Linked DNA regions of Homo sapiens: regions 1, 2, 4, 5, 6 and 7 are each linked to region 3. The links are contacts of gene promoters, found by promoter capture Hi-C in blood cells and fetal thymus (Javierre and others, 2016). All regions are on one chromosome and are shown on one strand. Each heading gives the region's core, a stretch centred on a gene start or on the middle of the fragment in contact. The rest is flanking DNA. Distances are from core to core; before and after follow the strand shown.

The links. The method cuts DNA at HindIII sites, captures the fragments that hold promoters and counts their contacts. A CHiCAGO score of 5 or more calls a contact.
Region 1: a contact is called between a fragment that was not itself captured here and the fragment with the promoter of LINC02478 in region 3, in 10 of 17 cell types (total CD4 T cells, naive CD8 T cells, naive CD4 T cells and 7 more). The highest score is 13.2, in total CD4 T cells.
Region 2: a contact is called between the fragment with the promoter of PSMD14-DT here and the fragment with the promoter of LINC02478 in region 3, in 4 of 17 cell types (neutrophils, activated CD4 T cells, monocytes and 1 more). The highest score is 12.7, in neutrophils.
Region 4: a fragment that was not itself captured here is called in contact with the fragment with the promoter of LINC02478 in region 3 in 6 of 17 cell types (naive CD4 T cells, activated CD4 T cells, non-activated CD4 T cells and 3 more); the score reaches 7.2 in naive CD4 T cells.
Region 5: a fragment that was not itself captured here is called in contact with the fragment with the promoter of LINC02478 in region 3 in 6 of 17 cell types (fetal thymus, naive CD4 T cells, naive B cells and 3 more); the score reaches 7.2 in fetal thymus.
Region 6: a contact is called between a fragment that was not itself captured here and the fragment with the promoter of LINC02478 in region 3, in 4 of 17 cell types (M1 macrophages, naive CD4 T cells, total CD4 T cells and 1 more). The highest score is 6.4, in M1 macrophages.
Region 7: a contact is called between a fragment that was not itself captured here and the fragment with the promoter of LINC02478 in region 3, in 7 of 17 cell types (total CD4 T cells, naive B cells, total B cells and 4 more). The highest score is 8.9, in total CD4 T cells.

Annotation. Positions count from the first base shown.
Region 1 is chr2:160,956,171-160,959,479 of GRCh38, reverse strand. No RefSeq gene overlaps it. Among named protein-coding and RNA genes, the nearest start is that of TANK-AS1, 200 kb to the left of the region's middle. The HindIII fragment of the contact is 4,861 bases long and covers 1-3,309 here.
Region 2 is chr2:161,253,262-161,256,814 of GRCh38, reverse strand. It overlaps PSMD14-DT (PSMD14 divergent transcript), which reads left to right and starts at 2,172. Exons shown (of 4, transcript NR_110593.1): 1 at 2,172-2,230. The HindIII fragment of the contact is 9,629 bases long and covers 1-3,553 here.
Region 3 is chr2:160,270,614-160,273,755 of GRCh38, reverse strand. LINC02478 (long intergenic non-protein coding RNA 2478) reads left to right here and starts at 1,861. Exons shown (of 2, transcript NR_103775.1): 1 at 1,861-2,036. It overlaps RBMS1 (RNA binding motif single stranded interacting protein 1), which reads left to right. Exons shown (of 14, transcript NM_016836.4): 14 at 1-1,605. RefSeq lists an enhancer at 3,044-3,142. The HindIII fragment of the contact is 15,786 bases long and covers 1-3,142 here.
Region 4 is chr2:161,002,293-161,005,745 of GRCh38, reverse strand. No RefSeq gene overlaps it. Among named protein-coding and RNA genes, the nearest start is that of TANK-AS1, 160 kb to the left of the region's middle. The HindIII fragment of the contact is 2,921 bases long and covers 174-3,094 here.
Region 5 is chr2:161,051,055-161,054,516 of GRCh38, reverse strand. No RefSeq gene overlaps it. Among named protein-coding and RNA genes, the nearest start is that of TANK-AS1, 110 kb to the left of the region's middle. The HindIII fragment of the contact is 2,218 bases long and covers 1,098-3,315 here.
Region 6 is chr2:161,068,442-161,071,875 of GRCh38, reverse strand. No RefSeq gene overlaps it. Among named protein-coding and RNA genes, the nearest start is that of TANK-AS1, 90 kb to the left of the region's middle. The HindIII fragment of the contact is 3,681 bases long and covers 1-3,434 here.
Region 7 is chr2:161,019,060-161,022,188 of GRCh38, reverse strand. No RefSeq gene overlaps it. Among named protein-coding and RNA genes, the nearest start is that of TANK-AS1, 140 kb to the left of the region's middle. The HindIII fragment of the contact is 3,986 bases long and covers 1-3,129 here.

The sequences.
Region 1 (3,309 bases), core at 21-2,520, 690 kb before region 3:
CAGCTGCAGCCATCTCTATGCTCCCATGGACTGCTTGCAATTTATCAGTTGAGTCTAGTTCCTGATGACCAAGCCTTCCAAATTCAGGGGACACATACTTCTGAGAGAAGTGGCAGCAACTCCTTCTACTGGAGACAGGGAGGATCATGGGAATTTTCATCTTGCTCCAGAAAACCTTTTCACGAAATTCCCTTTCTCTGCCCTTTGACCTTTCATAACCTTCCTACTGGTTGATAATTTAAACTTTCTTCAGCACCTTCTTTGACATGTTCACATGATTTCATTACCCCATTCTCTTTATTCTCACCTCTCTTTACTCATACTGAACAATACCCTGGTATTTTATTTTAGGGCTCTGATATTTATTACATTTTAGTGCCTATTTATTCTAGTAACAGTAACTAGTGAGTTATTAAAAATGTCTAAAATTTTTTGTCATTCTTCATGAGATTCTCCTTTAGTATTTGTTATTATGGAATTTTTTTTTCTTAAAAGTTGGAGTGCTTATGATCTATGGCCACCTATGAGGGACATGATTTTTTAAAAGTTTGAATGGAAGTTCTTATGGGAACAAAAATCACTTTTGTGGTGGCCATAAGTGTTAATCCTAACTTTGAGAGATTAGTTTTCACATGGTAGGCATTATATAAATATTGCTGAATAAGGGAGTGGGAAAGAAGCAGTCGGAAATCTGTAATGCTTGCCCTTGAATTGCAGAAGTATTGGAAAGCATTGGAGGAACTATTACCTCTCAAATTTCAAAGAGGAGCAAAACCTTTATAGCATGACTTTTCTGAGTTTCAAGCACATTCTCTTTGGTGTACCTAAAACATTTTATTTATAGATGGTGGTGGTTTGTCTGCTATTATGCTTCCTGAGTTTGTGATATTGTCTTACTTTAAAATGCTTTTCAAGGATGCTTGCATCAGTGTGGTGGGGATTGGGTGAAATTTAAGGTCTCTTCTAATCTAGAGATTCTATACTTTTTTCAGAATTCTGGCATCATCCATTCTCTTCACACTAGTGGTCCAGCAGAATTGAGTTACATAGGACAGAGCTTGGGTCACCTGTGGTGCGATTACTTTCCCAAACATCTTCGCTGGCATTGGTACACTGCCATATGGCTAAGTATAGCATGCAGGTGTCACAGATAAAATCTTCCCAAAACTTTCATGGCCTCAAAAGCCAACAACCTGCTTTGAGAACACTGTGTATTTAATAAAAAAAGTTAGATCTTGGTCCATGTGTGTATCAAGAACTATGAATTATTTAGAATGAAGATATATAGAGGAACATCTTATTCCTTCTTAGCATTAAGGACAGTGTGGAACAGGTATTAGCGGTAGGTTTTTACATGAAAAATTATTCTCCCAAGAATTTACATTTTTCAGTCAAGTTTGCTAGTTTTCTATCAGTTTGTTTATGGAAAAAAACCATATGACAGTAATGGGACTTTTGAGTTATACTTGTTATCAATGACCATGGAACAACTTGCTTGAGTTCTAGGACTTATTGTCTCTATAAAGAAGCATACTTTCTGTTCCACAAAGCTCTGAGTGTTATTTGGTAATAAAATGGTTTTGAGAGAGATAATGTGTTAGGAACACCAGGAGGTATTATCCTCTGTCTTAGCCTCTAAGCATGTTTAAATTTCTATGTTTGAATTTAGTAAATAGGAAACAGGAACATGCACACCCACATTCTAAATGATTGAGAAAGAAGATGATAAACAAGCCACACTTTGCAAAGCATTTTAATTTGGTGAAGAAGCTGAACACAGAAAAGGAAAGGAATATCAATAATACCAAACTACAGTGAACTATATATATTAGCATCCATGTTGTTCTCCTAGTTAATATAAGGACAACATCTTGTATTCTACAGCATGACTGTCACTTATGTTTCCATTTATGAAAAAGTCTAAAAATAGAATTCTGAATTCCTCAAAGCAATTCTGAGTTCCTGACATCAACGATGCCGGATAATTGAGTGCATGAACCTTACCAGGTCTATATGTATATATACATTTACATGCATAAATGTATATGGTGGTGGCACCTCTGCGACATTCTGGCTGCTGGGAATCAACAGTGAGTTGTATATATGTGTACATTTCAGCATAACTCACAGAAATAAGATGGGTCAAAGTGAAAACTATTAAAAAGGAAGTCTCCTGGAATGAATTTTGCTGTGTTGTCCAGTGGAGGCAATTGAATAGACTGATGGATTGGGGCTTCTGAGAACACGACAACAGAAAAATTACAACGAAATATTACTAGGAGCATTCTAGTTAACTCTCACAGGCAAGAGCTCACCATAGACAGGCCCGCCAAGTAGCCTTTTCTAGTTATAATTCACGTTTTTAGGAGAAAGAGTCAGCTAGCTAGTCAAAAAGGGTAGCAATAATTGCACTCTCTGTCAGTGGGAAAATAGGAAAATGAAAAACAGGATAACTTAAGTCAGAAAGGCAGAACTCACTTAGCATATTCTGAAATCTCTCAGTTTGAAGTAAAAAGTAAACATCTCGTTTCCATTGGAAGCAAGAAACAAGTTTTTTTTCTTCATAATGGAGCATTATCGCCTATAAAGAAAAATGAAGCAATGCTGTTTATATGTTTAACGTTTAAAAAAATAAAGACTGACAGTCGCCAGAATGATGGGACAATGGATAAAGAGCAGACCCAAAGATTTCCTTCCCTCCTCTGGACTCCACCCTGCGAGTTTCCCCAGAGAGGAGAACACAGATGTGAATCAGAGCTGGCAGGGTGGAGCTCTGGAAAGCCATCTCCTGGCTCTCTCAGAGCTTGGATCCCAAGAGGATGACTGGCAGCACCACTCTGGCCCTCTGGCTATATTTCTGGAAAGATTCCAGGAACTGCCAGGGCCAACAAACCTCTTTAAGTCATATATATGATTTGGCTGCGAAAGACCCTGACAAGAAATCTTGCCTTGACTTGGGAGCCAGGGGGTGGAGCAGGGGCAGGGTGAATGGAGCCAGGAATGAATTATCTGAAGGAGCACGAACATTTCTGCTTGCCTCTGTGTCCCTTTCCTGAAAGAGGCTGTGCTTGGAATCCCAGTCACATTTCTGGGCCAAGCCCTGGTGATTCAGCTGCGCCACCTCTGTGGAAGAACACAGCAGAGTCTCCTCGCAGCTCTGCCTGTTCCTTCCAAAAGGAGCCACGATGCTGCACCTGGTGCAACCAACCTTCCCCTACAAATCTACAAATCTGTTCTGCTTTGGATAAGGCATTCTGGGCAGGCAATGGACAAGAAAAACCACTGAGGTGCTTGCTTTTCCTGTGAGGT
Region 2 (3,553 bases), core at 923-3,422, 980 kb before region 3:
GGAATGTAAATGATTTTTAAGATTATATTAACACCTGATATATTCTGAGACTTTGCGGAGTTTGAAAATTAAAAAAAAGAGAGAGAGAAGAAAAACCAATGTAGAAATGTCTTGAGAGCAAAATGACTGTGACCTCTTTTGGAGGACAGTTCAGCAATAACACATATTTTAATTTTAAGAAAAAATATTTAATTTTAACACGAAAGTCTTAAAATTATGCAGACTCATTGAGCATTTACATTTCTTAAGGAATAATCTTGTCAAATGTGAAAAGATGTATTACAATATTCAAAGTAAAAAAAGTTGAAACTACCTAAATGTTAATCAACAGGGGATTGATCAAATAAATTATGGAACATCCATAAAATAAAATGTACGTTTCAACAATAGCCATTAAGAATTATGAAGATCTGTATGGACATTAAAAGACAGCAGTGATTATATATTAAGAGAAAAAAAGGAGGCTATAAAACTGTATGTACAGTGTGATCACTTTTATAAATATGTGAAATATATGTTAATGTAATTAATTCTTGATGAATAGGCAAAATACTATTTATGGTAGTTTTATCTGGATGATAGGTTTATGGTTGATCTTCATATAAGAAAATACTTTTTGTCTATAGTATTGAATGCTTTCTACAATGATAATATATAGTCAGAAATAAAAGCAAAACACTTTCCTTTTAGAAATGAAAAAAATACAAGCAATATCTTCTGCAAATATGGAAAAAGTCTATAGGACTCAAAATGGGTGATATCTATTGTTTACTCCTTGTCTAGGTTCTCATAAATTATTCATGGAAATCCTATCGTACTAATAATTATTTTTCCTTCATTACTCCTTTGCATTCCTTTTCAGAGAGTGACAGGTATTATACTCTGCAGGCATTTATATTATAGAGTATTCTTTATAATAGATATTTTCTTAAGCCATGTTTACATGATTCAAAAAAAATCACATAAATAAAAAACAGTTACATTGGCTAAATTAGAGTATTTCTACACAAACCAATAATTTTAGCTTGAACTTGAACTGACCAACTTGAATGGACCAATTACTTTAGGATTATTTTTAAGATTAAAGTAAAGAAAATTATGAAAATCAACAGTTTCCTTCAGTTATTTAGAGGAAAAAATAATTACAAAAAAGTCTTCAATGAGACAAATTAATTTTACAAAAAATAGCAATTAGGCAATTGATATAATATTATATATATCTATCAATCTGTAGATAGAGATACAGATATAAAAAACCCAGGGATACACTAATAAACTACAGAACTTGTGTAGGACCCATATGAAGAAATTACAAAATTTTCAAAGGATCATTAAAATTTTTGAAAACTTTCTATGTGAGTAAATATTTTAAAGCTGTCCCATCATTTATAAATTTAATGTAATTCAGCGTAGGATTTCCAATAAATTTTTAAAATTAGCTATGACATTAAATTTCTTTTAATTGGGCAGCCTCTGAATCAGAATAGGTCTAGAGAGAGTCCTAAAATTTTTTTATTATGAAAATAATATGGGCTTCTCCTGAAAAATTCAGGCCATGCAGAAGGTGTTAAATGAAAAATATTGTCCTTGGCCTACATCCTAACTCCTCAATCCAACTCCCCAGGGGTAAATCATTGTAAATAGCTTTAAAAAAATTGTGGTAGGGCCAGGCAAGGTGGCTCACGCTTGTAATCCCAGCACTTTGGGAGGTCGAGGCGGGCAGATCACGAGGTCAGGAGTTAGAGACGAGCCTGACCAACATGGTGAAACCCCGTCTCTACTAAAAATAAAAAAATCAGCCGGGCATGGTGGCGTGTGCATGTAATCCCAGCTACTCAGGAGGCTGAGGCAGGAGAATCGCTTGAACCCAGGAGGCAGAGGTTGCAGTGAGCCGAGATTGCGCCACTGCACTCCAGCCTGGGTGACAGAGCGAGACTCTGCGTCAAAAAAAACAATTGTGGTAAATAAAACATATTGTTTTAAACATTTTTAAGTGTACAGTTCAGTAGCATTAGGTACATTCACATTGTTGTGCAACTATCACCACCATCCATCTCCAGACTGTTTGCATCTTGCAAAACTGAGACTCCCCTGTACACCTTTAACAACAACCCCCATTGTCCCCTTCCCTCAGCTCCTGGCAACCACCATTCTACTTGATGCCTCTATGAATCTGACTACTCTAGGTACCTCAGATGAGTGGAATTATGCAGTATTTGTCCTTTTGTGTGTAAGTAGCTTTTTAATAATCTTTTTCAAATATTTTTTTCAAAGACATTTACCAAAATTTTATGACTAATGCTTGTTCATAGTAGAAAATCCAAACTACCTAAGAAGTTTCTTTATAGTAAAGAGCAAAATTTCCTCTTCTCCACAATGTCCATTCCCATTAACCAAAGCTAACCATTGTTAATACTTTTTTTGGCCAATCTTCCAGAATGTTTATATGTATCAATAAGGAACAGCCTCACATACACATGGGCCTGCACACACACTTCTATGCTTTTTCTGACTTTTTTAATTTTAAGAAGGCTAATATATATATTGTTGTACAATTTGCTTTCTTCACTTAATATATCTTGAGTATTTTTTCACAGCAAAACATATGTTCTTAAGTGAATCTTTTTTTAACTTAATAATGTAATTCAGAATAATATGAACGAATAGTCAAGAATGACAAAGAAAATTTTGGAAAGGAAAACTACTGAAGGACTTGCAATACTAGATATAAGACTGTATTATTTAAATATTGTGATAAAGGTAGAAAAATAGAGAAATCAGTGGAGTGGAAATTAATCTCAAGAGAGGTCTCTAGAAGATAAAACCTTTCAGCTAAATTCAAAAATCTTAAAATCAGTAGGAAAAAACTATATTATTCAATAAACTTGCAGGGACAAGCTGAAAAACAAGAATCCAATCCTCTCCTCACATGATAAACCAAAATAAATTGCAGACATATTAAAGCACTAAATGCATAAAATGAAAACAAAAAAAAATCATCAAATATGTAGGAGAAAACAAAAGTGAATATTTTAGCAGGTGGTCATGCGTGCCTGTAGTCCCAGCTCCTCTGAAGGCTGAGGCTGGAGGATCACTTGAGCCCAAGAGGTTGAGGCTCCAGTGAGCCATGATCGTCCCACTGCACTGCAGCCTGGGCGATAGAGCAAGATCCTGTCTGAATAAAAAAATAAAGAAGTCAATAAAAAATAATAAAAGTGAATATTTATCTAACCTTTTGTGAGGAAGATTTTCCTTTTTTTCTTCAGAGATGGAGTCTCACTCTGTCGCCCAGGCCTCCGCCTCCTGGGTTCAAGTGATTCTCCTGCCTCAGCCTCCTAAGTAGCTGAGACTATAGGCATGTGCCACCATGCCTGGCTAATTTTTGTATTTTTTATTAGAGACGGGGTTTCACCATGCTGGCCAGGCTGGTCTCGAACTCCTGACCTCGTGATCCACCCACCCCAGCTTCCCAAAGTGCTGGGATCACAGGCATGAGCCACCGCGCCCGGCCATGAGGAAGATTTTCTACAAGTAAAGGTAGAAATGTTAATGA
Region 3 (3,142 bases), core at 612-3,111:
CTAGATTTAGTGTAGGTAGTGTTGGGGTTGGGGATGGGGGTGGGGGAGGGGAGTCACTGAATGTTTTGTCCTTCCTTTATACTAATGATAGTGCTTTAGAATGAGAATTATGCCTGAAATCTGGCAAACCGAAAAATGTTGCTATTGCAACAAAGTGGCAAAAGCTAAAAGTAAGGATTTATCTTCAAACATAAGCTGAGATAACGAATAGAAGCAAAACGATTGGCTACTAGCTCTCTCTCTCTCTCTCTATTAGGTAAATTTGAAAAATAAAAATGACTTGGCACTTTTAAAGGTAACTTCACCAAAGACCGAAGAGCCAGTAACCAGTAGCTCCAACTTGTCTCAGCATCACATCTTCTGTGCTCTTTATTTTTGCCGGACCAGTTTGCGGTTAGGAGAATGTGCCTTTTTTGTACCTTTGCATTTAGGTTTTATAATTTTAATTGATGTATGGACACACACAAACAAAAAAGCATGAAGGAAGATTTGGATCCAAGCAGTGCCACACTTTACATCATCACTACAAGTGTTCAAGTGTAAAGAAAACCAATTTTGAAACTATGAAATTCCTGATTCATAAATACACAGTTATTTCTACTTTAGTACATATAAGATAATTCACTGTTATTAAAGCTCTTTTATTAAGGCAATTGCATATGTTTTAAAAGCAATGGTAAATTAAGTTGTCTTCCAAAACTGTGTACTTGTCTGGTCAGCTGTGTATGATCAGTTATCTACCTCAGAGTCTATTTTCTTTTGTGCTGGGACAGGTTGCTGGCCCTCCCTGTTTCCACAGACCAAATCCTCCTAGCTCAGGAGCTAGGGCTAAGCAGTTATTTCTTTCAAGTATTTTTTAGTTCTTAAATTTTATGCTTGTATTTGATGATAGATGTCAGTGACATTTCATAGTTTCAAAAGTCCTTGCTGCTCTGAGAAGTGTAGATTCTAGTGAAAATTACATAGTCATAAGAGAAATGTGTTTTTGTTTTTGTTTTTGTTTCATTTTTTTAAAGTTGTGGTATTATTGGTTCTATGCTCCCTGGAATATTACTGCTTTGTGAAAGTCCAGACTGAACGCAGCACCCTCTGTGTACCTAGTACAGTTATAAACCTGGGTCTCTCACTACTTGATATTTTTGCATTAGTTAAGACAGAAATTTGATAGCTCGGTTAGAGGGGAGGGGAAATCTGCTGCTAGAAATGTCTGAACTAAGTGCCATACTCGTCTGGGTAAGATTTGGGAAACATAACCTCTGTACATAAAAAAAAAAAAATCAGTTAAACATCACATAGTAGACAGCCATTAAATTATAAAAAAATTAATTTATGAAGAAAGACCTTTTGTACAGATTGAAAAAAAAAGATTTTCATAGAGATATCTATATGATCAAGAGAGTTAATTTTTTATTTTTGTTTTACTAGTGCCACAGACTTGCCAGTGGTAACTTATTTGTCCGGTTCAAGATAACTCTGTAGTTTTCTTTCCTAGGACTTGTTGTTAAACGCCAAAAGACATTTTTGAACTGTACATTTGATCAGATTGTTAGCTTTTCTGTTTTATTTCTTTTGAGAACCTTTGAATAAAAAACATCTGAAATTTTATTTTTCCTGTCAATTTTTTTTAAGTCGATTAAGTGTATATCAGAATTTCATTTCATTTCTGATCTCTTTCTTCAGCTCAGTAGATTGGTTTGAAAGTGAGTTGAAAGTTATGTCAGATTCAATATATCCTCAAAATACATTTCCTTGAAAACAATTGGAAAAACCTTTCCACCCCACTTTTGCTGGTTATTTAAATCTGTGTAATGACCAGAGACGTCAACCCTCAGCTCAGCACGTCAACCGTCAGCTCAGCACGTCAACGGTCGGCTCAGCAAATATCCAGCCCAAAATACACCACTAGTGGTCTGTTCTTAAAGACCAAAAAACCAGGCCCTTTTTCTTCCTCCTTTCTTGCTGCTACGCCTCAACTATTTCATTGCTTGTCAATGCTCAGCAAGGAAGACAGCCTAACAGCAGCCCTCCCACCTGTGGTAAGGAAGCATGTGGGCGAGAACCTCGGGATAATCTTATCTATGCGTTTATGACCAAGGTCCTCTTTCAGAGCTACCTGTTCAGCTGTTCCCGACTGGAGGCTCCCGTGCAGCATTCACGGAGGAGCGAGAACTCCTCTTTCCCTCACTTGACTGCTTTATAGGAGGCACTTAATATGCAAAATAGGCTCCTTCTGCCCAAAGTGGAGTAAACGTTTTAGTGTGGTGGTTCAGTATTTATTTCCTGGTGTCCAGTGGCTCTGTCATGGTGATAAAAAGAGTGGGCAAGGAAAAGATGCAGTCCGCTCCATTTCTGGCTGCGTCCCCTGCCATGTGGATGGTGTGCGGGGTGAGTTAGATAAGGGAGGGGTCAGAGCACTTAACTTGCCGGAGCCAAGAAATCGCTGGTACTTGATGGCTGTTTCAGAGAAGGAAACAACATTCCTCTGATGCTAACTGGTGCTTCTGAGAGCAAAATGTCAGGGAGGAGAGAAGCATGGCCTCTCGAGACAAACCCAGGCTGCTAAGAATGTAAGCTCTGGTCTCACTTTGCGTTCCAGCCAAACACCTAAGTGCTCCTTTCTATGACCAAAGGTAAGAAAGAAATGCAATTCAGGCTCCTGGGCACCTTCGTTTTTGTTCACCCTATTTTTGTTGTAGCTTCTCGCCGCTGAAGTCCGCGGCCCTCTATCTGGCTGTGTTATGTACTGAAACCGGTAAACATACTCAGGAGCACCAATCCACGGAAAAGGGAGGATCAAGCCAGCGATGGTGGTTCACAGTTACCGCTCCCATATAACTAGAGGGGTTGTGGCATGTTTGGGGATAAACCCCACCTAGCTGAAAGCTCTGAGACTGAAGTGGAATTCTGGGGTTGGAGGAGAGGAAAGAGGGTGTGGCCGTTGCTCTGTGGTCTACGTATTTTCCCCTCTATAGTGGCTGGAATGAGGAAAGCCAGGGAGTGGAGGCGGGAGTCCCGTTTTTCACCCCACTGCCACACCCTTCATGGCCAGTGGCTCTAGGTTTATCCGCTGGAGCTTAAATCCCACAAATACTGATTTAAAATTCACTAGGAGAAAGGCAGTGCCTCCCAGCCTGAGCCGGGG
Region 4 (3,453 bases), core at 385-2,884, 730 kb before region 3:
CAGGGAAATTGATTTTAAATTCTTACGATTTAAAATTCTTGTGTTGTCTTTTTGTGTTTTTTTTGTCTCCTCTCTCACAGGTACAGTTATTTTTCCCTTGTTATCAGTAAGTTTGCTTCTAGCAATTTCTCCCTGCCTACTATAAAGTGGCTGCAAAATTACATAACAAAGCTTGTTAGAATAATGGTAAATAGACTCTTTGTGAAAGTGTCTCCTATGAATCAAGTGTGCAGGTGTTCCTGTGCAGACCATAGGGTATCTCTTTTGGCAAGTCAGGGACCAGTCTTGCTTACTTCTCATTCTTCACTGTGGTCTTCATGACCAAGCTGACCACATATCTATGATTTCCTGAGACTTGAGAGGTAGATGTGTTGTTTACACAATGTAGACTAGGATGTAAATTTCACTCTGTGTTATTAGTCTTTGTATTAGTCAACTATTGCCACAGTAATGCTGCATTCCAAACCACCCCAAAACTAAGTGGTGCAAGCATTTATTCCTCTGCTTGTCAGCTGGAGCTTCGCTAGTCTAACTGTGTTTAGTTGGGCTTCACTGAAAACTGTGGATTGGATGCAGAACTACCATAGCACTTCTTGGGTCAGTAGCTATTTGAGGCAAAGATGGGGTAAAAGAGAGGTGAGCAGAGACATATGACACTGCTTAAGGCCTAGGCTTGGGACTGGGACACTTGCTTCCACCCACCTTACACCGGCCATAGCAAACCACATGGTTAAACTCAACAACGGGGAAGGGAAGAATATTCCTCCAAAAAGGGCAAGTGAATATTAGCTGAATAATTACTTAATTGACCACAAGCTGCTGCTTTTTATAAGTAAATTTAGATTTTTTTAATGGAAAAATAACTACAGATCACCTTGGCATGATTTTTTAAAGGCAGATTACACATTCTATTAAAGATCTCAAAACTTCCAAAAGAAAGAACTTTTTATTGTCATTCATCCTAAGAGTGTAAGTAATGGGCCAAAAAACAAACAAGGCAAAAACAAAACAAAACAAAACAAAACAACCTCACTCAGCTTAAAATATGAAGGAGAAAATATTGCTAATATTACCTTAGCCATAACATTTCAAACCCAATTCTGAATCACAGTTTATAGAAATTGTCATTTGAGTGGCTTTCTTGAGCTCCCACGATACAGTAATTCCACAAGGGGGCAGTTTGTTGTTTCTGATAATGTAGTGTCTGTCTGAATTCTCTTTCTTTTTCCTTTATTACAAAGTCTCCGGGTAAGTAGAGAAATTTTACCTTCATAACTTATTTATGGCTGGGAAGAAGAGTACAACCTTAGAGAGAATCACTGAAGAGAGGCATTGCCAGTCCTCACTGACTCAGGGATAGCTCTCATTCATGCTTCCAAGGATCAATGAGAATAGCTTTCCTTAATTTAGAACAGGGAGATGCTGACCTTTATATGTACTTCCTGGCTTTTTCTTTCTTGATGTAAGATTCTCCCTTAAAACGGGAATGACACAGCCTATGTCTCTAAGACTTAATGAACAACACGCCACAGGCAGGTCGTGGGGCCATCTTGATGGGAAAGAGCACGGGACTTTGTCTCAGTTGGCCACAGTTTGAATTCTGATGGCTATTAATGAGCTGTCTGCCCTTGGGAAAGTGATCTGACTTCTCTGAGCCAAGTCACCTTATCACTAAAGAGAGTATACTCATGTCTATCTCACAGCACTGTGTGTTTCACACAAATTAGCCCTCAGAATTAGCTACCTACAAAATGGAGGGTATTCATCAGTGTACTTGAGTAGGAGAAACTAAGAGAACTCTGGTTCTAGAAAGTTTTCAGTCCATGGAAGAACCACCAAAATAAAGTGAAGAGCACCCTTTGATTTTAATCTTGGATGGCATCTGTACAAAATTAAATAGAAGAGAAGCAGAGAGGAGTGAGTTTCCAAACACTCAGATGTTATAAGAATTGTTCACAGTCATTGATTTTATACCTTGAAATCCTACAAGTTTCGAAAAGGCTAATTCAGACAATATGCTATTCCTTCCACTGATGTTAGATGGATGGGAGTGGTACAGGATGGAGAAATAAAAAACAAATACACCAATCAGATGCAGATTTGGTCTTTTCACATAGTCCCATATTTCTTGGAGGCTTTGTTCATTTCTTTTTATTCTTTTTTCTCTAAACTTCCCTTCTCGCTTCATTTCATCTTCCATCATGGATACCCTGTCTTCCAGTTGATCGCATCGGCTCCTGAGGCTTATGCATTCTTCATGTAGTTCTCGAGCCTTGGCTTTCAGCTCCATCAGCCCCTTTAAGCACTTCTCTTTATTGGTTATTCTAGTTATACATTCGTCTAAATTTTTTTCAAAGTTTTCAACTTCTTTGCCTTTGGTTTGAATTTCCTCCTGTTTGATCATCTGAAGCCTTCTTCTCTCAACTAGTCAAAATCATTCTCCGTCCAGCTTTCTTCTGTTGCTGGTGAGGAACTGCATTCCTTTGGAGGAGGAGAAGCGCTCTGCTTTTTAGAGTTTCCAGTTTTTCTGCTCTGTGTTTTCCCCATCTTTGTGGTTTTATCTACTTTTCGTCTTTGATGATGGTGATGTACAGATGGGTTTTTGGTGTGGATGTCCTTTCTGTTTGTTAGTTTTCCTTTTAACAGACAGGACCCTCAGCTGCAGGTCTGTTGGAGTTTGCTAGAGGTCCACTCCAGACCCTGTTTGCCTGGGTATCAGTAGCGGTGTCTGCAGAACCGCGGATTTTCATGAACCGCGAATGCTGCTGTCTGATCGTTCCTCTGGAAGTTTTGTCTCAGAGGAGTACCCGGCCGTGTGAGGTGTCAGTCGGCCCGTACTGGGGGGTGCCTCCCAGATAGGCTGCTCGGGGGTCAGGGGTCAGGGACCCACTTGAGGAGGCAGTCTGCTCGTTCTCAGATCTCCAGCTGCGTGCTGGGAGAAACACTGCTCTCTTCAAAGCTGTCAGACAGGGACATTTAAGTCTGCAGAGGTTACTGCTGTCTTTTTGTTTGTCTGTGCCCTGCCCCCAGAGATGGAGCCTACGGAGGCAGGCAGGCCTCCTTGAGCTGTGGTGGGCTCCACCCAGTTCAAGCTTCCAGGCTGCTTTGTTTACCTAAGCGAGCCTGGGCAATGGCGGGCGACCCTCCCCCAGCCTTGCTGCCGCCTTGCAGTTTGATCTCAGACTGTTGTGCTAGCAATCAGTGAGACTCTGTGGGTGTAGGACCCTCCGAGCCAGGTGTGGGATATAATTCTCCTGGTGCGCCCTTTCCTAAGCCTGTCGGAAAAGCGCAGTATTCGGGTGGGAGTGACCCAATTTTCCAGGTGACGTCTGTCACCCCTTTCCTTGAGCAGGAAAGGGAACTCCCTGACCCCTTGTGCTTCCCGAGTGAGGCAATGCCTCGCCCTGCTTTGGCTTGCGCATGGCACGCTGCACCCACTGTCCTGCGCCCACT
Region 5 (3,462 bases), core at 957-3,456, 780 kb before region 3:
CAGCTTACTGCAACCTCTGCCTCCCGGGAGTGATTCTCCCACCTCAGCCTCCTGAGTAGCTGGTATTACAGGCATGTGCCACCACGCCTGGCTAATTTTTTTATTTTTAGTAGAGATGGGGTTTCACCTTGTTGGCCAGGCTGGTCTCGAAATCCTGACCTCAAATTATCCTCCCACCTCAGCTTCCCAAAGTGCTGGGATTACAGGTGTGAGCCACCACACCCAGCCTACTATGAATTACTCTTTATCTCCTGGCAATTTGGTCTCTGCATGCAACGCGGCCTTTGTGTATAAGCACTGTGTGTGTGTAAAAACATTGAAACTTCCTTAATAAATGAAGAGATGTCCTTTTTGTACATCTGGATTTGTGAAAGGCATAATTTCTTGAGATCTTAGCTGCTTGGGCAACTGCTTGTGCAGTGTGACCCATTACAGTTTTTGATTGATCTAGTTGAAAGACTTCATCACAGTTGTCATCACAGTATTTCAGATGACTGTAGTTATAAACCTGAGTGCACACAATTACTAACCAAGTTACCATGTGTTTATATGTTTCCCTTTTTATACATTTCCTTTTTTATTCTATTTCTTTATGCATATCATTTGCTTATAACTGTTATACCTGTGTAACTGTTGTCAGTATATGAGAGCATTTGCTTGCAACAATATGTATGTTATTATTGCCTATATTATTATGTGAAGTAGCCTATGAAATGTTCTGTTGTGATATGTTTCTCAAATAAACCCCCCTTTTAAAGTGTGAAATGTCTTTTAAAGAACTTTTAACATTTTTTTTTCCCAAATTACATTTCTGGGACTTTAGGGATTTTGATCTTTCAGGATTTCATCATTTAGGATTATGTTGTACAAGACTGTGTCAACATTATAATCAGCTCCCCCTTGATAATACATTTTTGGAATTTAAACTACTTGATATTAGTGACCCCACCTTGAAGTTCTCCTCTCTCTTAAATTCTGTTCACTTCAGCATTTGGATTCCTGTTTCTTCTTTGGTCAAATCACTTCTTGCTCTTGATGTTCTTGGCTAGCTTCTGTTCTTCTACCATTCATTAATTATGATGGACATTCCTTAAGCTTTAGGAATTCTTCCCCTTTCTTTGTGATGGTATAAATTTCTGTGACTTCAATTATTTTCTCCATGGGAATGATTCTTACGTTCATGTCCTTCTTAGTATCTGTATCCTGCTGGTTCTTGAAACTTAACATTTGTAAACTAGGTTAATCATTTTTGCTGTTAAACGTGTCCATTCTCCTGACTTTCCAGATTCTTCCAAAGTCATCACTATTTTGCATTACTATATTTCAGTCTCAAACTCATCTCTGATGTCTCCTATGTCTTCAATCCCATATCTCCAATAAGCCATTATATCCTATTGAATTTTCTTTGAAATTGCTCTCACTTCTTTTTTCACATGCCTTTCACATGGCGGCCTCCCTAATCAAGACCTTTATTTAGCTCTCGTCTGTTCTATTGCAATAATTTTCCAGCATCTAGCCTCTTCTGCCTTCTAATATATCTTTCACACCACTGCCAGAGTGATCTTCTCAAACAACTCTGATTATATCTGATTATGTCTTTTCTTTATTCAAAATATCTTTAATGACAGTTTCATGCCTAGTTAAGAAAGTCCGTATCATTTGCTTGACAGTCAAGAACCAGATATAACAATTTTTCTTTTCATTTTTATCTCCCATGGTTCTATGCATATACCCTGAATGTCTCATTTCCCAACACACTTTCCATTCTTTCATCTCCACACTTAAAAAAAAAATTCTCCATCCTGCTTGAGTTGCCCTAGATCACTCCTCTGTCTTCTTCACCTCCAGTTCTACTTATTAAAGTGCTTTCCATTCAATGCCCTGTTCTGATGCCATCTGCTCCATGAAGACTTTCCTGATGACTGCAGCCAGGAATGGTCTCTCTCTCTCTAAACTCCCACAGTCTTCTATCTGGGCCATGAGAATTACTGCCTTCTGCTTGTTACCTGACCACATGTATTCTATGAGATGGTAGCTCCTTGAGCATGAATACATGTCTAATTATTCTTCACATTCCTCACAATATTTTGCTAAGGGCAGATGCTGAGTCAGTATTTGTTGACTGTGGGACGCCCCCAGCTTTGATACTGCACTTCTTTTGTCCAGAGTATTGCATTAACATCTCTGCTATGAGAACTTCAGCAGGAATAAAGAAGAAGCTGAAAATCTGCCATTTAAATAATAGGTGGCAGCTCTGTGATGTGTCTGCCATTTATCTGTCTTTCTTTTGGATGGTAAAAGAGTATAGGCAATAAATCAAGGATTGAAGAGAAGAGAGTTAAATCCCAATTTTGGCCTCATCACTAGTCTTTCTGCAATATGCACACATCCTTTCTTTCTTCACTTTCTTCTTCAAGGAAATTGGCATCACTGGGCTACTTCAAAGGAGCCATGGTGATAACTACCAATTACATTGACACTTCAAAGTGTTAAGACCATGTGGCTGTCACTTTGGCACATTGTGCTTTCTTCCTTCTGAATTCTCATGACTTTTCCTGGATTCCTTACTAACTTACACATACTACAGTGTATTGGATGGTGGTCCTGAAAACATATGTACACATCCTAATCGCTGGAACCTGTGAATATTACCCTATGTGGTAAAAGAGCAAATATTACCTTATATTGCAAAAGATGTGATTAAGTTAAGAATCTTGAGAGGAGGGGTTTATCCTGAATTATCTGAATGGGCACTAAATGCCATCACATATATCTTTATAAGACAGACAACACAGAAGAGAAGGCAATGCAAAGAAAGAGATAGAGATTGGAATGCTGAAGCTACAAACCAAGCAACACTGGGGTTGGCAGCCACCCTTAGAAACTAGGAAGGAGTCATTGAAAGAAATCTACCCTAGAACCCTTGGAAAGAGTGTGGTCCTCTCAGCATCTTGGTTTTGGACTTCTGACCTCCAGAATTGTGAGAGAATACATTTCTGTTTTAAGCCACCACATTTGTGGTAGTTTGTACAGCAGCTCCAGGAAAAAAAATATACCTATTCCATCCTGTGATACATCTTATGCTGATATTTAATATTTGCATCCATGTTTTGACTTTCTTACAAGCTACTTAACAACCACTATGCTTAAAACTTTCCCTTTCGACAGGTATTGATTGAGATTCTACTACGTGCCAGGTACAATTTTAGGTCCCAAGGTTACAAAACCAAAAAAGATCTCATTCCTGCCCTCAAAAAAGTCATAATCTTTAGGGGATAAGGTAGTCTAAGTGAAGCAGGGGCAGGTAAGGAAGCTTCCTGGATGAGGTGACATTAAACTGAGTTCCAAAGATTGAATTGGGATTAACTAGGCTGGGGGAGTTAGGAGATAGAACAATTTTAGGCAACGAAGACATCATGAAGAAGGTCACAGAACCCAGACCTCATGGTGTGTATCTTGTGT
Region 6 (3,434 bases), core at 345-2,844, 800 kb before region 3:
ATACACATGAAGAGGAGCCACATGCCAGATAAACAATGAGCCTGGGAAAGGTGATATTCAAGAAAGTACTCTTCAAATTCGAAAGTGCTATTGAAATATGGGATGGTGATATTCTAAGAATCAAGTTCGGTTTTTCTGAGATTTTCTCCGACTATAACAATTTACTATGTGACCTCCTCTGTAGCGTCAATGTGACAAACTGAGGAATTTAAAGTGTCTTGGAATTATATAAACTTTTCTCATGAATAGACTGTTTTCTATATAGCAGTTTAATAAAATATCTTGTGCTAAGTTGTTTAGATATCCACTTTTCAGGGTTTTTTTTCTTATTGATAATTCCTCATCAAACTGTAAGAGGGAGGGAGGGAGAAAGAGAAAGAAAGAGAGACATTGCGTCTCATTTCCTCAGTCTCCAAATTGTGTAATTTACCACCTTCCAGGCAGGTACTCAAAATTTGTACTTGGGAAAAGGCCTTAATGAGCAAGTGGAAAATGTTTTTATAAAATTAAGGTCAAACTTACAGTTGTGATAACTTAGCAGTCATTACTACCTTTGTAACCCTGAAGGCTGTTCTTAGTCACTTGTGCATGTATACTGTATCTCCCATATGTATCAGTAAGGAGAGGCTGGTTTATATTGTGGCAACAAATAACCCCCAAGTGTTAATAACTTAAAAAAAACAAAGATTTATTTCTTGCTCACATAGGTTTATTTCCTCCTCCAGGATGCTCTCAACAGAGCACCTGCTATGGACTCTTGCTGGTCTTCATGGCAGAGGAAAGATAGCTCTGCAGGCTCTCACCCTGGCCTAGAGTAAGTAAATGCTCTGGCTCAGAAGTGTCGTACACCACCCATTTCCCCAAACACTGGCTGAGATAGTCATGTGGCCCCACCTGACAAAGGAGCCAGGAAATAGAACCCTATCATGGTCCAGAAAGGGGAGAACTAGAAGTATATGGTAAGCATTACTAATGACTGGCATGCCATTACTGCTTGCACAAAGCAGTAATGTGGGTTTCTAAAGTGAATCCAGCATTGCCCAAGAAGGCCAGCAGGCTGATGTGGTGTGATTGTTGGTCTCAGTCTGCCTCAGTGTCAATCTCCCTCATCCACTCTCCACAATATTTCCTACTGAAGCCTGTTATTTCTTTGTCAGAATTTACTCCTTATGTGAATTCTAGGCATAATTTTGTTCTCTTTTAAAATGCATATAAACATTAAGTATAGCATAATTTAGTCTGTTCATCTGATGGTTTTGGGGAGCTGGCTGATGCAGAGTTCTTGAGGATGGAAAAGTTATTTTTGAAAGACTAGAATCTCCTCTGAAGAAGGGGAGAAGGGATGTCTGAAAGTAAGTTATCTGCTTCAAATTATTTCCCAGAATAGGTCCTGACCACCAGGGTGAGGATTTATAGGGCTATGCACCATATATTGTTCCTCAGTTGCAAGCCCTGGAGCAGTCACATAATCGATTCTTGTCCATTTTAGGAAATAGGCCCCAGGAATATCAGGTTTGGGATGCTTGCAGCACAAAATGACAAGGTACATACTGAACTATACATTCTCTGGTGCCCAACACAAATAGAATTTCCATTCTTATAAATGTACAGGAATTAAAACATCATTTCTCTTGAACATTTAAAAATGCTTCCCATTATCTTTAAAAACATCTTAAAATATATTGCAGTTTGTTTTCTAATTATGCAATAAAATCACTCCCAGTTCTGGTATGTTGGTTAAAAGTCAAAACAGCTTGTATTTGAATACAGATATACACATTCAACATTTAAAAGCTGTTTTCATCATGATAATTAGACATTAAATTGTGATTTATATTGTTAAATACTGATTTAGAGTTAACCAAGTAACAGTCTGGAAATTTTGAAGTACTTTTAGAATATTATGTTATATTACGCCCATAATACATCGCATTTTTTTCTTTCCTCCCAAATTTAATGCATTATTATAATTCACATCTTAAAATATTTTGGGTAGGTAATATGTATACATAATACAAATGGCTAAAGTTACAAAATAGTTTTTCAGTGAAAAACAGGTATTTTTTCCTATCCCTGTCCCCTAATCCTCAAATTTCCCCTTCAGATATAACCACTGTTATCAATTTATTGTGTTTCCTTCCAAAGATAGTCAATGTTGCTATAATTTTCTTTTCTTTTCTGTTTTTTTGTTTTTTGTTTTTTTGTTTTTTTTTTTTTTTTTTTTGCTGTTGTTGTTGTTTTTGAGACAGAGTCTCACTCTGTCACCTAGGCTAGAGTGCAGTGGCGCAATCTTTGTTCACTGCAACTTCCGCCTCCCGGGTTCAAGAAGTTCTCCTGCCTCAGCCCCTGGAGTAGCTGGGACTACAGGTGCACCCAACCATGCCTGGCTAATTTTTGTATTTTTAGTAGAGACGGGGTTTCGCCATGTTGGCCAAGATGGTCTTGAACTCCTGACCTCAAGTGATCCACCCACCTCGACCTCCCAAAGTGCTGGGATTACATACATGAGCCACTGTGCCTGGCCGCTATAATTTTCAAGTGTGTGTGTGTGTTTGGTTTGGTTATTTGTTTGCTCTTATACTTTATGTTTTTCATTTAACAGTATGTCTTGGAGATTGTTTCATGTCACTATATACAAAGCTGCTTTATTCACCTAACAACAACATATATTCTATTATTTTAATCTATTATAATTTATTTACCCAGGTCCCTATCAATAGATATTTATGTTGTTTCAAATCTTTTTCTATGTAGACAATCCTGAAAATTATATTCTTACATTTATTTCTATATATATGTGACTTTACAGTAGACATAATCCTAGATTTGGAATGGCTAGATCAAAGGCAGATTTTGTTATAGAAATGTCATTAGCATAAATTAAATTTTATACTGTGACAATAAAATTAAAGACTTTTTTTTTAACCAAGGTGAAGTATTTGTGAAATATTTGTTCCCTTAATTGTACAACTTTGGGCTAACACAGTCAAATGAGTCATCATTTCAGACCTCAAGGGACTGAAATACTACGGGTAAAATGGCAGCTGTTTAGAAAGTACATATCTTGAAAACCATTTTATTGTCATTCTTAAAAGACTTGTTTATTAACCATATAATTGAATCTAAAAGAGATATTCAAATGTTCCTACTTATATATCTGGACTCTGAAAACTCCTAACTATAGAACATTATAATAATAGTTCTTCAAAAGTGAATGCATTTTCGAGTAAAGTTCTGTTAAAAACATCACCAGGATTAATCACATCAAACCTGTCTGGGGGTTTCATAAACAGTTGACAAAGTCAAAACAGTGATGTGCTTTGTTAAAGGGCTCACTGAAAAGCTAATTTGTAAATTGGCCATCACTTAAATGCATGTATCTAAGTTAGCTCACTGAGAACTTCTTTAGACTAGAAAATCCCCTGCTTTAAGCT
Region 7 (3,129 bases), core at 525-3,024, 750 kb before region 3:
TATGGGCATGGTGTGTGGCACCCAAAACAATTATAATATTAACATCAAAGATCCCTGATCACAGATCACCAAAACGGTATGAAAATAATAAAAAAGTTTCGGCTGTTCACCGCGGCTTATGCCTATAATTCCAACACTTTGAAAGACTGAGGTGGGAGGATTGCTTGAGGCCAGGAGTTCAAGACCAGTCAGGGCAATATAGCGAGACCTCGTTTCTACCAAAAAAAAAAAAAAAAAATTATCTGGACATGGTGGTGTGCACCTGTGGTCATAGCTACTTCGGAAGCTGAGATGGGAGGATTGCTTGAGCACAGGGGATCGGAGCTGCAATGAGTCGTGATCGTGCCACTGCACTCCAGCCTGAGTGACAGAGTAAGACTCTGTCTCCAAAAAAAAAAAAAAAAAGAGAGAAAAAGAAAAAAAAGTTTGAAATATTGTGAGAATTACCAAAATGTGACACAGAGACACAAAGTGGGCACACACTGTTGGAAAAAACAGTGCCAATAGACTTCTTGATGTAGGGTTGCCACAAACCTTCAATTTGAAAAAAATGCAGCATCTGCAAAGTGTAATAATGTGAAGCACAAGAAAATGAAGTGTGCCTGTATATATACACATTATTAAACCACAAAGAGGAATGAAGTATGCCTATATATATATATATATATATATATATATATATATATATATACACACATTATTAAGCCACAAAGAGGAATGAAGTATGCCTGTGTATATACACATTATTAAGCCACAAAGAGGAATGAAGGACTCATACATGCTACAATATGGATGAACCTCAGAAACGTTATGCTAATGAAAGAAGCCAGATACAAAAGGTCATCTATTTTATTTTTCCATTTGTATGAAATATCTAAAATAGATAAATCTGTAGAGACAGAACACAGATTGGTGTTTGCCAGAGGCTAAAGGGATTGGGAAATGGAGAGAAATTTGCTTAGTGGAGTGTTTCTTTTTGGCATAAAATATTTTGGAGCTCAATAGAGATGATGCTCACACAACATTGTGAATGTACTAAATGCCACTGAAATGTTCACTTTAAAATGGTTCATTTTACATCAGTAAATTTCCTTTTTTTCTTTTTTTCTTTTTTTTGAGACAGAGTCTCTCTCTGTTGCCCAAAATGAAGTGCAGTGGCATGATCTTGGTTCACTGGAATCTCTGCCTCCCCAGCTCAAGTGATCCTCCCACCTTAGCCTCCAGAGTAGCTGGGACTACCGGTGTGTGCCACCACACCTGGCTAATTTTTGTATTTTGTTGTAGAGGCTGGGTTTCACCATGTTGCCCAGGCTGGTCTCTAATTCCTGGGCTCAAGTGATCTACCTGGCTCGGCCTTTCAAAGTGGTGGATTATAGGTGTGAGGCACTGTGCCTGGCCTTAGTAAGTTTCTTAAATAAACCTTAGCCATTTGTTATTTTACAAGAATCTGCACAGTTGGCTAGACTCAGTTCTGTTGATCTGGGTGAGGTTCAATGATCTCAAGTGGGCTCATTCATGCATTTGCAGTTAGCTGTGGCATTGATTGGCGGTTGGAAGATCTAGGGTGACTTTGACTTGGATGACTTGGCTCTATTCCACATACTCTCTCATTCTCCATAGGGGACACTGGCTTATTTTCAAGGCAGAGGCAGAGGTTACAACAGCAAGGCCTCTTGAGATGTATGTTCAGAATTGGCATCCGTATTCCCCTCCATTTAGTTGGTCAAAGCAAATTGCAAGACCAGCTTAGATTCAAGGGTTGAGAAAATAAACTTTATTCCTTAATGGGGAAGCTAAAATGTTACTTTACAAAAGAGGTAGATACAGGGAAGGGTGGGGGGAATTTGAAACTGATCTATCATAGTTTTTTTTTTATCCCTAGTGCATGGTGTGCACTCAGTAAGTGTATGTTCAATTAATGAGTGTCATTGAATTTAGGCCAGAAGGGGATCTAGGGTCCCAATTCAACATTTGAAATTATGAGTTCCCATGAGCTGGAAAGAAAAAACAAAAATAGAATTCTTGGAGGTATTGATATACCTTCTCAGATTAGCCTAACTTTTCCAATCATAAATCAGAAGCTCTTTCACTATCTTGTAAGGAGGATGGAATACCCCATCATCATCCTCTCCGGCCCAGCTCTCTCCTTCTCCTCCCTGTTTTGGTTAGGATTTTGAGGACTTCCTGGTGTTAAATTCTGGGTAAAACAAGTTTGGTAGCTATGCTAGTGGTGTAGCTCTCTTAAAAAAACAAATAAACTGGATCTCTAAAAAAAAGTCTGATTTATGGTGTTTGCCGATTTCTATGGTGTAAATAGTCCCGCGATGGCCAATTTCAAGCTACCAGCTTAAAGTGACTGAATGCAGAGCTGGGAAAAGATGTACATTTTTGACTCCTGAGAGTCAACAAGAGCCAACTCCAGCTTACCACTGGATGGCTGTGTGGGGCCCAGCTCAGCAGCACCTTGGCTGCCTTACCCCCTGCTCTTCCAGGACCATCAGAGCCAACGATCTGCTCTGATTTGTTCTTCTGACATTTGAAGTTTTTCTTTCATTTACTCAATGATAATTATTGAGTAACTCTCATATACAATTATGTTAGGCCGTGGAGGTGAAATGATGAACAATGAGAACATGGTGTTCACTCTTATGGAACTCGCATTCTCCGTAACTGAATCAGTACTTCCAGATGCTCCTGAGGGAGTCCTGTATCTCTAAAATTGTTTTCACTGATGCTCTCTCATTGATGGTATCTCATTGTGGTTTTGATTTACATTTCTCTAATGACTGGTGATGATGACCTTTTTTTCATGTTTGTTGGCTGCATAAATATCTTCTTTTGAAAAGTGTCTGTTCATATCCTTCGACCAGTTTTTTATGGGGTTGTTTGTTTTCTTGTAAATTTGTTTAAGTTCTTTGTAGATTCTGGATATTAGCCCTTTGTTATTAGAAGGTGTTAGTATGGTGGGATTTCAACCCAGAAGAAGAATATCCCTATTTTTTAAAAAGTATTCCATCCATAGGATGAGGATGTGGTCACTCACAGAATTGGTATTTACCACAGTCTTTTTGGACTGCTTCTTTCTGGATTGGAACCTAATATTCAATTATAGACCAGCTATATAATTCA